Regions from separate parts of the Homo sapiens genome. Here region 1 is linked to region 2. Evidence: promoter capture Hi-C in human tissues and cell types (Jung and others, 2019). All regions are on one chromosome and are shown on one strand. Each heading gives the region's core, a stretch centred on a gene start or on the middle of the fragment in contact. The rest is flanking DNA. Distances are from core to core; before and after follow the strand shown. Region 1 has its middle 21 kb from the start of TRIM36. Region 2 holds the start of YTHDC2 (YTH N6-methyladenosine RNA binding protein C2).

Evidence for each region. Contacts are between HindIII fragments. The study calls those that stand out against the background at their distance.
Region 1: a fragment that was not itself captured here is called in contact with the fragment with the promoter of YTHDC2 in region 2 in 1 of the 25 tissues and cell types used here (small bowel).

What each region holds. Positions count from the first base shown.
Region 1 is chr5:115,187,417-115,193,633 of GRCh38, reverse strand. No RefSeq gene overlaps it. Among named protein-coding and RNA genes, the nearest start is that of TRIM36, 21 kb to the right of the region's middle. The HindIII fragment of the contact is 4,821 bases long and covers 402-5,222 here.
Region 2 is chr5:113,511,750-113,517,630 of GRCh38, reverse strand. YTHDC2 (YTH N6-methyladenosine RNA binding protein C2) reads right to left here and starts at 3,937. Exons shown (of 30, transcript NM_022828.5): 1 at 3,549-3,937; 2 at 2,269-2,359. The coding sequence starts at 3,735. It overlaps LOC124901046 (a long non-coding RNA gene), which reads left to right and starts at 3,973. Exons shown (of 2, transcript XR_007058905.1): 1 at 3,973-4,200; 2 at 4,691-5,772. RefSeq lists a silencer at 3,452-3,681 and enhancers at 3,634-4,135, 4,132-4,181. The HindIII fragment of the contact is 6,758 bases long and covers 1,664-5,881 here.

The DNA.
Region 1 (6,217 bases), core at 1,563-4,062, 1.7 Mb before region 2:
GTTGGCCATTTCTGCTGGAAAATTACTTCCTCTTAAAAATGATAATGTATATAATATTTGTAAGTCATTTCAAAATAATTGTTTGTAGTCCTCTGATTTGTGGCCAGTTTCACAAAATGCCAGAGAGCATATAAATCCATTTCTTATCACTCAGACCAGATATAAAATCAAGGTCCATCTTTTCAAGATTTAATGTATTTTAATGGTCAGTTTATATAATAAAGTGATAGCAATGAGGAACTAAACCATGTCAAAATAAGTTATGGAAGAAAACATCTTCTGATATGAACACTGTCTAGTAAATTGTTGTTCAGTGCTTTTTACCCACCAAAAATGTAGATATTGGTCAGTCTTTTTTTTTTTTTAGATACTAAGAAGTTCTTTCTAATTCCTAGCTGGTATATGTCAACTTTAAAAATCATGTTCTTGGCCGGGCACGATGGCTCATGCCTGTAATCCCAGCACTTTGGGAGGCCGAGGCAGGCAGATCACCTGAGGTCGGGGGTTCGAGACCAGCCTGACCAACATGAAGAAACCCCATCTCTACTAAAAATACAAAAAAATTAACCAGGCGTGGTGGCACATGCCTGTAATCCCAGCTACTCAGGATGCTGAGGCAGGATAATCGCTTGATCCCGGGAGGCGGAGGTTGCAGTGAGCCGAGATCGCGCCATTGCACTCCAGCCTGGGCAACAAGAGCAAAACTCCACCTCAAAAAAGAAAAAAGAGGGGCATCCTACAAAATACCTGACCAGTACTCCTTAAAACTGTCACAGTCATCAAGAACAAGGAAAGTCTGAGAAAGTGTCACCGCCAAGAAGAGATAGGAGAATTATTTGTAACGTAGTATCCTGGATGGGATCCTGGAAAGAAAAAGGACACCAGGTAAAACCTAAGGAAATCTGAATATAGTTAATAATAATGCATCAGTATTGGCTCATTAATTGTGGCAAATTTACCATGCTAATGTAAGATGTCAATGAAAGGGGAAACGGGTGCAGAATAGTTGGGAACTCTGTACTATATTTGCAATTTTTCTGTAAATCTAAAACTTTTCTAAATTAAAAAGCTTATTTTTTTAAAAAAAGTATACACCATGTAGTAAAGTCCTGTCGTATTTGTGGGATTCTACTGTGCTGGCTAATATACCATCTTCTTTATAGAAACCTTGAACCAAACCCATCGTTCTCTCCTCTGAAGAGCTTAGGGCACTTTATAGACAGGGATATATGTTTTTATTGTTTCTACTGATCCAGGTGGCAACTTTTATGATTCCTGGGTTATATAGTAATGATATCTGCCATAGGGAAGGGCTTAGTAAAGGTCACCAGAATGGCAGCATAGCTGGGTGTGGAGCCTTGTATGGTACTTGTTCCAGTGCCATTCCAGGCTGGGCAGGAAAACTGGCCAGATGAATTCAATTCCATTAAATTCAACAAATATTAACTAGCACCTACTATGTATTGTAAGCACTGGGAAGCTATTAAGTTGGTGCAAAAGTAATTGCAGTGCAAAACTGCAATTACTTTTGCACCAACCTAATAAAACTGAAAAAGATTCTGTTTGCTGCTCAAGGACAGTGTGGTGTAATTGGGGAGAGACAAATGTATCAATAGACAATTTCAGTACAAGAAGTTATGTATCACGACAGATGTGTAAAAGGTGTTGAGGGAGCTTGGGAGGAAAGATACCTCGCCAGGCAGGAGGTGAGTATTGAGCCCTAGGAAAAAAGTCCCAGCCTGAAGTGCAGGTGAATCCTGGTTAGGGGGAAATGTGTTTTAGTTCTGTAGGGGCTCTGCTATGTCTGATTTCTTAAGCCTTGAGGGCTCTTCTGAAAGGTTTACTCAATAGCAGTAGTGGGACTACTTTAAAGCCAATTTTCCTGGCAGGGCATCAATCTTACTTTCGGGAACTCAAGTTTTGTGAGAACATGAAAGCGCTTTGATATATACGAATAGCAAAATCATAGTTCAAATAACTTGGCTTACTCTTCTGTCTCTGAGGTATGAATGGGGAAGGGAGATTTGCGCCGGATTTTGTGGACTGTAAAATATGCTGGCACTCCTAGGAGGGTGGTAACCGACCTGAACTTTCTGTTTATACCTTTAGGAGTGATTAATCAGGACAATGGAGATTAATGCTATTTTCTTCTACCCTTTGATAGTAAGGCATAAGCATTTTTTTCCTTAGGCTGTGAACCAGATCTGGGAGACACTTCCTGGGCCCCTTTCCTCCCTGTGAGAAATTTAATAATCCACATTCTCATTAGATCTCTAGGTCTCAGTGTGAGGCACTGTACAAAGCCCATTTTGCAAACATGAGAGACTTTTTTCTTTTCAGTAGTAAGTCACTGCATTAGAGAAGCAATTTCCTGATATGGAGGTTCCAAATAAATTGCCTGTGCTATCTAAATGTTTTTCCATGTATTTTGAAATTATTTGCTCTCTTTCCATGCCATTCTCTGAGGGATGAAGAGCAGCCAGCTGTTGGGTCCTCTTCTCCTTCTGCTTGCTGTCAGCACCACCTCCCCTCATCCTAGGAGGTCCTTCTGTCAAAGGCAAATGCCCATGACATAGCCTGAGACAGTTAACATCCTTCCTTTCATATCCACTTTCCTAAGCTAAGAAGAGTAGAGAAAGTATTTGCTTGGCTGTATTCAGCATCTTGTGTCTCACAGGCTACAATTCTTTGGTAAATTATGCCACTAATTGTTTAGCCATCAGGGAAAACTGGTCTTTTATAACATTTTCCTTTTCTGAGTCTCCCTAACACAATGAAAAGGCCCTAGTGTCCAGACGAGGATTTAAAAAGTGGAGTCTAGGGATAAGTTTACAATGCTTGGGGAAGAAAAAGGATACCCCACGAGTGAGAAGGCTGAGGCAGGAGGGGTGCTTGAGCCCAGGAGTTCGAGGTTACAGAACAACCTGGGTAGCTGATGCAGTGGAAGACATCACCTAAGGGATTTTATTATCTTTTGTGAGTAATGGAAGACTGGCATGTAGAATAACAAGATTCAAATATGACCACAATCAAAGGCACCTGAGCAAAGAAACACGCCCAGGCCCTTCCGAGTGGTTGAGGCTTGAAAAGTAAAGGCAGATAGTGGAGAGTTTTTAAATATGAGACAAGAGTACTGGGTGGTGGCTAGGACCATGGGGTCTCACCTGGCTCTGCCACCACCCCTCCTAGTGACTTTGAGTAAGTAGGTCACTCCACTGTTTGTGCCTCAGGGTGATTATCTGTAAAAGGCAAATACAATAGTACTTTGCGGAGTTTTGTGAGGATTAAGTAGGATGATATGAGTAAGCACTTAAAATGGTACCTCACCTATAATGAGAGCTTAAAAAATATTAGCTGTTATCATTATTATATTAAGATGTGAACAGAGCTCACTGGGGAGTCATCCTAAAGTTAAGACCCAAAGGCTCAGAAGGCTTTTAAATAAATTAGCTGGAGGAAAAAATAGATTCCTTGAAAAAATTCAGGAAATTTCCCTTTAAAAAACAAAAAGGCTTAGTTACAACCCCCACACACCTGCTGGCAGGTGGAGCCAGTCACAGCAGGAGAAGGAAGATGCCTGGAGCTTCTCAGGAGCATGGCTCAGACCTCCTCATGTCTTCTCCCACACGATTTAAATTTAGAATCCTATTCAGAGGACAATTAACCAAAGCTAAGTATACTGTCGTGCCTAGGGTCATGAACTAGAACCAAGCCAACTTGGCCTTTATTGGAACAGTGAACTTGGGGCTCCAGCTCTTGAGCCAGCAAGCAAATGACCTGTTGACTTAAGCAAGTTTCAACTTTCACCCTCATCTCAGAGCTCTGGTAAGGATTAGAACAACTCGAGTATCTTTACAGAATGACCTGTAATCTGCAAAGTGCTTTTAATTGAGAAGGATGATGTGTTACATGTTCTGTTATGCTCTTTACCCAGGTCTTTCATCTCTGAAGAAGGCGGTGGGAAACAAATGTTATTTCTCCTCTTCATACTCCTTTTCTCATTTATTCTGCAGGTATTATATTATAGGTGGTACAAGTGAATAGTAACAATAGAGGATTCATTGAGTCTTTAGTCTGTGTTGGCTACAATTCTAAGCTGTTTACATATATTAACTCATTTAATCCTTATAACAGCTCTCTGAGTCAATACTGTTATTGGGTCCATTTTTACAGATGAGTAAACTGAGGTATAGAGAAATGAGTTGCTAAAAGTCTCACAGCTATAACATGGCTATATTAGTTGTGACTAGGCTTGGTTGTATGTAAGAGAAAACTCAAATAACATGGTTTAATCAATTAATCAAGTTATAGTTTAATTGTCTCTGGAGTAAATGAAGATAGAAGGTAGGTGGTCAACAGTTGGAATGGAAGCTCCACCATCCTTAGATTCAGGCTCTTCCCTCTTTCCTCTCCAGCCATTTTAGTGAATGACTTCTATCCTCAGGTTCTCCTCAGTAGTCCAAGATGGTGGTTGGATGCCACGTATCAGAACTGTATTTCAGTTAGAAGGAAAGGAAAGAGAGGGCAAAAGAGCTCTCCCAGAAGCTGGACATAAAAACTCCCATTGATACCTCATTGGTCAACCCTTTCTGCAAAGCAAGCTGCAAAAGGAGTTTTCCTTTTCTTTTTAAGTTGGGCACATTTCTCAACGTTCTGTTACAAAGAAGGAGGAAAAGTGAATATTGAACCTATATACCATAAAATACAGTTCATTGGACCATAACTGTGGTGTTGGTTGGCAGGTGAAGACATAACTGTATTACTGTATTTATTTCCCACTTGGAATAGTCATTTAGAAAATATAAATAAGGTGGTGCACATAATTTTAAAAATTAGAAACTTACTAAAGCTTCCAGGTTTCCCTTAAGCACAATTTATTTATAATTAAGAAAATTCTTTAACTTCACAGTATTTAAATGGTTATTTGAGACTCTTGAATTTACGAGTAAAGGAAAGGCAAAGTGGTGTTTGGGTAAAATTATTTTTCTCCTTATTTTTATTCCGAAATTTTAATCTGAAGCTTTTCTCCCCGCAAGGCATTATTCTCGGGTTTCTGTTTCAAAATGTTCAGTACTAAAGCTTTCATTTGTCTTCTAAATAAAACAAGGGAAAACAATACTTGAATTAGATAGTTAGATAGTTTTTAGTTGGATTATAGTATACTAGATTGTGGCTAATACTTTTCTTTTGACCTCAGTTTCTCCCATTGTAAAGTAAGTATATTTATTCATTTGTTCATTTATTCATTGAGTAAACACTTTTTGGACTCAAATATGTGTTAGATATTAACACTTAATATTTGATAGTCATTTTTGTTTCATTATTAACCAAAAAATGGGATAATATGTAACAAATTATTTAAAGCTTGTTACTCTTACTCAATGAGTACTTTTACAGTTAAATAAAAAGTGTTTCTTTTCATAAGGGTAAACCAAATTTGTCTTAATAGAATACTGAAAAAGAAAGGTAAAATTCCTTTTGGAATTATAGGAAATTCAAATAGTTCAAATAAATATGTATCACACAGAGAATATTTTATATTATAAATCTTTAAAGATAAGCATATTGGAAGGAAAATGTCAACAATTTTCCTTTTCAAGAGTAAACAAATGCCTTGTGAAACACAAAGTTCTCCCCTAGCAAGCTGGTGAAATGCTGAAATAGATATATTTTTTGTAAAAATACAAAAATTAGCCAGGCGTGGTGGCATGCACCTGTGATCCCAGCTACTCAGGAGGCTGAGGCAGGAGAATCGCTTGAACCTGGGAGGCAGAGGTTGCAGTGAGCCGAGTTCGCATCACTGCACTCCAGCCCAGGTGACACAGTGAGACTCCATCTCAAAAAAAAAAAAAAAAAAATCATAGCTCCCCACCTTGCATTGGCTGATCAGTGTGTAATTTAGGGACAGATGAAAAGATGCCAGCCTCTCTGCCAAGAACTTGTCCTTCCTGCTTCTCAAAGTCAATGTTATTTTTATGGTGTGATGTGTATAGAATCCTTTCTTAGCACTTTTTTTCTATTCTGTGAATTTCTTCCCAGATATTTTCCTCTTTTTGGTAGAGCTAGAACAACAGTGCTCAAGCTCTACCAAATACTCAGTTTAATCAATAAGTCGGTAGCATATATTGGTGTTATTAACATTTTAAATTTCAATTTAATGGAGATAAGAGCTGTGCCTTTTATTGAGGAACCCTGGCACAACAAGATTTTTAAAATA
Region 2 (5,881 bases), core at 2,688-5,187:
CTGGATAAATAGGCAGGATTGCCTTGCTTCCCTTAGCATCTCTTTCCTTTTTCTTCTTTCTCTGGCTCTTCAATGTTTCCGCATTCCCCATTTTTGTCTCCATAACTTCCTTCTTGAATTCTCCTTCCCAAGATATCTATTCATTCCAGATCAGCTCTTACATGACTATGCTACTGAAGAGAAGGACAGGAAGTCTACTCTAATGGACTGCTTTTCTAAGTTAGCTGTTTAGAATGCAAGACCCATGTAACCATAGAAATGATGTAGCTACAGAACTGTACATTTATAACATGTGTTTCCAAGCACAGGCCCAAAACCTCTTACCTGCAACTAGTAAACCCAAACAGTGCCAAAAACTGGAAACTTTTAAGTTTGCAGTAACCTCATTTGACATCAAATGTGATCACGTGATTAAACTGACATGAGGTTATTAATAGTCTCAGTGTGAATATTCATAGAATTTCCAGCAAAAATATAAATGTGACTAAAGGTGATGGCCATATTTTATTAGGTAGATTATACAACATATTGCAAATATACCCAAATACCTTTCTAAAGTCTAAAAAATCTGAATCTCAAATATATTTAGCCCAAGTGTTTCTGGATAAAGTATTGTGGCACTGAACTATATTTTTATTTTCAGGTGCAGTATTTTTACCTACCTAGTGGACTATAAGATGGGCACATTCAGGAATCTAACCACTGTTCCAGCACTGGCCTTAGTGATGTTCAAAACGCACATTCACCTAAACTAAATCCCGTGTCTCAGTAATTTATCACTGTAGTAGGCAGTCATATGCAAGACATTCCTACATCAGCTGCTTTCACTTTGGGACCATCTGAATATTTATTAATATATTTACTTAATAAAGTTTTGTTTTCCCTCTTCCTAACCTAAAAACATACCGGTAAGCTGAAATTTTATCCTTTTCTTCCCTCTATGTCAGTAGTTCTCAACCTGAGCAATTTTGCTCTCCAGAGGACATTTGGCAACCTCTAGAAGCATCTCTGGTTGTCACAACTGGGGTTAGGAGTGTTAGTGGCATGTAGTAGTAATGGCTATGGATGCTGTTAAACACCCTACAGTACACAAAACAGAATAAAGAATTATCCAGTCCAAAATGTCAATAGCACCAACAGTGAGAAAGCTTCCTTTACATTGATCCCACCATCCTTATTAACAAAATGAAATAGCGCCACAGAATTTTAGAGTTTTTCAATTTGGATGGCTCAAATGACTTTTCCCTCAATGTAACTCTGTGATCCTCCCAACAAAACAAAACAATTTCCTCCTGTACCACTTTTTAAAATCATTTCTAATCATCAGATCCTTGACTTGGTAGGAAAGAAAACAATGAACATATGCTCTAAAGCTTATTATTATATTGCAGTAACAGTAAAAGAAGTAAGTTCCATAAATAATTGCAACTATCTTTTGTACATCCATTTTTCAAATGAGATTTCTATCAAAAAATAAAAATATTTTTCTCAAGCAATCAACTTCAACTTTTAAACTATTTTTTTCTTACATCTTAAAATTTACCTTTGAAAGAGTTCACGGTATGCCACCCAAAAATATGTCACTCTGCCATAAGGATTATTTTGAGCTGAAGGCAATCGAGAAGAAGCAGACATAAGAAAAACTCCGCCTTCCCCTGCTTTACCAGAAAGGGAAGGACTATTCTTAACAAGAGAAACCACTCTAGACTCTTAATAGAGACAGCACCAGGGGAACCTACATAACCAACCTTGCTAAAAGAACACATATCTTCCATTAGTTTCCCCACATATACCTTCCCACAATTTACTGCACCTACAAGTTCAAAGTCCTTTTCCTTTGTCTTGTCATTTTTTAAATAAATTCATTGTTCTTTATTAAGATGCCACATAAGCCCCATGTTTGAGTTACTATCGAGTTCTCCCCTATGTATGCATGATGCATGTCTTAATAAGCTTATGTTTTTCTCTTGTTAATATGTCTTTTATCAGTCTAATTTGCAGGGTCCCAGCCAAGGAACCTAAGCTGGGTAGAAGAAAAAGCATTTTCCTAGGGAAAAACAAAACAAAACAAAAAAGGGGGGAAGAGGTAGACAGAGGGAAGAGGAAAGAGTTGAATTTGGTACAGACCTGAATCTTTTATCTACATATGATACAATTAAGAATGTGAAGTTAAAACAGTAATAAGTACTTAAATGTACTCAGAAACGTTTCTCCCTTTTTTGGGCAAATAATCTTTTTTAAAAAAAATAAGAAAAGCTACCAGCTTACCCTTTACTTTTAGAGACCAAACCAAGAGACTGACTGAGTCGATGAATAAAGGCTCTTTCAGTACTGGTCAAAGAAGAAGGAAATTCCATTTCTACACGGAAAAAAAACAAAGTAGTAAAATTTGTAGATAGGCAATTTTCTCTCAAGTAAAACACACAGATACAAAATATGAAAAACATACATAGACAATCAAATTTATTATACTTTATTTGAGGTTAACTTTATATTTCATATTCTATTTATGTAAATTAATAAAATTAAGATATTTTATTAATTCAATAACTACTGAATGTCTATCAGAATTCTGATATTAATAAAAAGACAGCTATGTATTAAACCTAAATGTGATAAAGGCCTCTGATATTCACCAAAAACGACTCCTCTTACTTGTTCTGGAATTTTGAGTTGGTATAATGACTGAACATATTTAACTTGGTCCCTACTTGTTTAGTTAACAAAATGTTTATTTTCTTCAATGATGAGATATGTTCAAATATTATGAATTCTCAACATGAAACTCCATTGTCTTTGCTTTCAAAACTGTACAGAATTCGTATTTCACTATTTCAGAGGGATTTGTTATATATTGCTGAGGCTTTCTCTTTTTTTAATGTGAATTTAGAATCTCTCTGTCTAGAACATTCCCCGTTTTGGACTATAAGATTCCAGAGTAAGAGGTCCCCTAACTAAGCCAGCAGGTCCGAATGAGCCCTCAACAGACTGCACAGGTCACCGCAGGTCAGTTGCTGGTTCTGCATTATATGACCCAAGACAAGTGGCTATCTAACCTCAAGAGGTGTGGAAGATGCTTCGTGTGCCAAACAAGTTTAATTTAAGTGGGTAGCGTGATGCTTCAGGGTCCAAACGTATTGCTGGTGCATTTATTTATATGTTTGATTTCTTTCTGCTCTTCTACATCTGTAGCTTAAACGTGCCACAATTAGGTGACACCCCCTTAAAAAGGGTTAGGGCTAACCAATATCTGAAACACGGTGGCTTAACCGCCCAAGGCTGCTGAAAGACGCGGGGGAAAAACACTTTCAGCTAGGGAGCAAAGTGCCCATAACCCCATTGATCCGCAGAGCACCTCGCATTCCACCGCAGGGCCAACAGCCGCGTTCCAGACCCGGGTGCCGCCGCTGAGGCCCGCCCCGGACGGTGGCCCGGGTCTTCCCTCCCTCTTCGGAGGCACCCCCATCACTCGGTGGGCCGCCGTTTGGGGGGCGCTGGGGTGAGGGGGGTATCCTGACTGCCAGCATGGTCCCTGTCCGGAACCTCACCTCTCTGGTCCCCGTATCGGAAGCGCTCCAGCGCGATATTGACTGCGATCTTCACCTCCTCATCAATGCGAATGTCCTTCAGCCCCTTGGCCCGGCCGCCGCCCCCAGGGCCACAAGGCGAGGGGCCGCCGCCTCCGCCACCGCCAGGAGCCGGCTGCCGCGGGGAGACGCTGCTCGGCCTGGACATTGCCCTGAAGAGATGGTCTCTCCGCACGGGAGCGGCCAGGCCTGCTAGCTGACAGCCAATGACAAAGACCGTGGGAATCCGGGGCCACTACCGGGAAGCTCCGGAGACGGCCTGTGTTGGGCTGAGGTCACCAGAAAGGCCTCAGTCACCGCCACAGCAGAAGTGAAGCCTGCGCCATTGATATCACGGCCAGGCGAGGAGCGCGGGCGTAATGACGTCACCAGGGCCGGCGCCCGTGACCTCAGCGCGGCCGCCGCTGCGCGCCTAAAGGAGGCTGTCTGCGGAGCTATGGTGCGGTTCTCTTCCCGCGCCGCCCACCAAGGGTCGCTCCTCATCTTCTTATTCACTCACTTGCTACTTCGTTTAGTCCTTCATTAATTCCTGCAGTAAGCATGTATGGGCTTCTACTGTGGACCTGGCATTATGCCACGCCTTCGATGTACATTGGAGAACCAGAGAGCCAAGGTTCCTACCTTCATGGAGTTTATATTTTAGTGGGAGGAGGGTTGCCAGATTTAGCAAATAAAAATACAGAATGCTTAATAATTTGCATTTCAGATAAACGAATAATTTTTAGTGTATATATTTCCCATGCAATATTTGGAAAAATATCATAAAAAATACATATACTAAAGAATGAGCCACTGTTGTGTGTCTTGCATTCTTCCCTTTTCTGAATGGGAGATTTTAATGCAAGTATGCCACCCTTGCTCTATCACGCTACACAGGGTAGCTGAGTGGGGGCAGGTATGTAGTACATATTTACATAGTTCATGAGTTACCTGGCAATGAGGATATACATCTGGATCTAATAAAGAGGACTGTGTATCAACAACAGATCCTGGATGCAGTGACTAGATAGAATTCCAGGTGTCTGGGGAGGGTATATGTGTATTCTGTGTGTGGTAAGAAGGGGGCGGAATATTTGGTGACAAGAAGTATCTTTTCTTCCTAGGCATTATATTTCCCAACTCTCCTGCAGTTAGCTGGGGGCCACATGGCTGAGTTCCGGCCATTGGAATGTTGCTGGAACTGATGTATACCACTTCCAGGATTGGTCTATAACACCTTCCTTGAATCTTCCCTTCTCTGTCTTTCCTGGTCTTCTGGAAGTTCTTAGACAACGGTGGAACCACTAGATAGATAACAGGTTCCCGATTCCCTGAACGAGTGTGATAGAGTGTCCTCACCAACCCACATTGGAATATGACATGGGTAAGAAATAATTCTTAGTTGTGGTAAACTGCTGAGATTTGGGAAGATTTTTTTTTGTAACATTATGGTAAATTGTTGAATTCATCAAAGGTATGGCCTTTGATGAATCACACATTCCTCTGTTCACACCCTTGTATTCTTCCTTCCCACATGGACTCTGTCTTTGGCTATGTAACTTGCTTTGGCCATTGGGACATCAGCAAATACGAGATAAGCAGGGGCTTGAAAGGTGTTTGTGCATTAAGGCTTAGCCTGTTTTGCTGCTGAGAATTCTTCTTCCACAAAGTAAAGAAGCTTAGGCTAGCCCACTGACAACTATGGCCCAATCATCCACCAGCACCAAGGGCAAGACGTGAAAAAGGCCATAATGGAAAGTCTAGTCTTAGAAAAGCTGCTGGATGACCACAACTCTGTAAGCAACCCAAAGCAAGATTAGCAAAACCACCTAGCTAAACATAGTCCAAACTGTTGACCCACAGAACACATAAACAAATAAAATGAATATTGCTGTAAGCCACTAAGTTTTAGGTTGGGTTTCTTACACAGCAGTAGATAACTGATACAAAGAGTTAGCTTATTCTGACTAATATATTTGTACAATGATAAGGCTGATCTTGGGCATAAGTGACTAGGCTGAAAGAACTAGCTTCACCCGTTCCAGTTTGTACCCAGTTGCCTAAGAACTGGGGTCATCAACATCTTGATATGCCTGTAAACAACTTGTGGCATACGAGCATGCCACAGCACAGTGGTCTGGAGACTGCTCTCTTCTCATCTATAAAATTGACCTGGTAGAGTAATAAAGTCTTAAAATATAACCAACATGATTTTATTATTGATGCTAGGGATATTTCCTCCCACCCTTTGCCCCCTCATCACCCCTACTTTGCCAGCCCTCCATCCCTTTCTCTCTTGTTCAGCCAGGTCATTT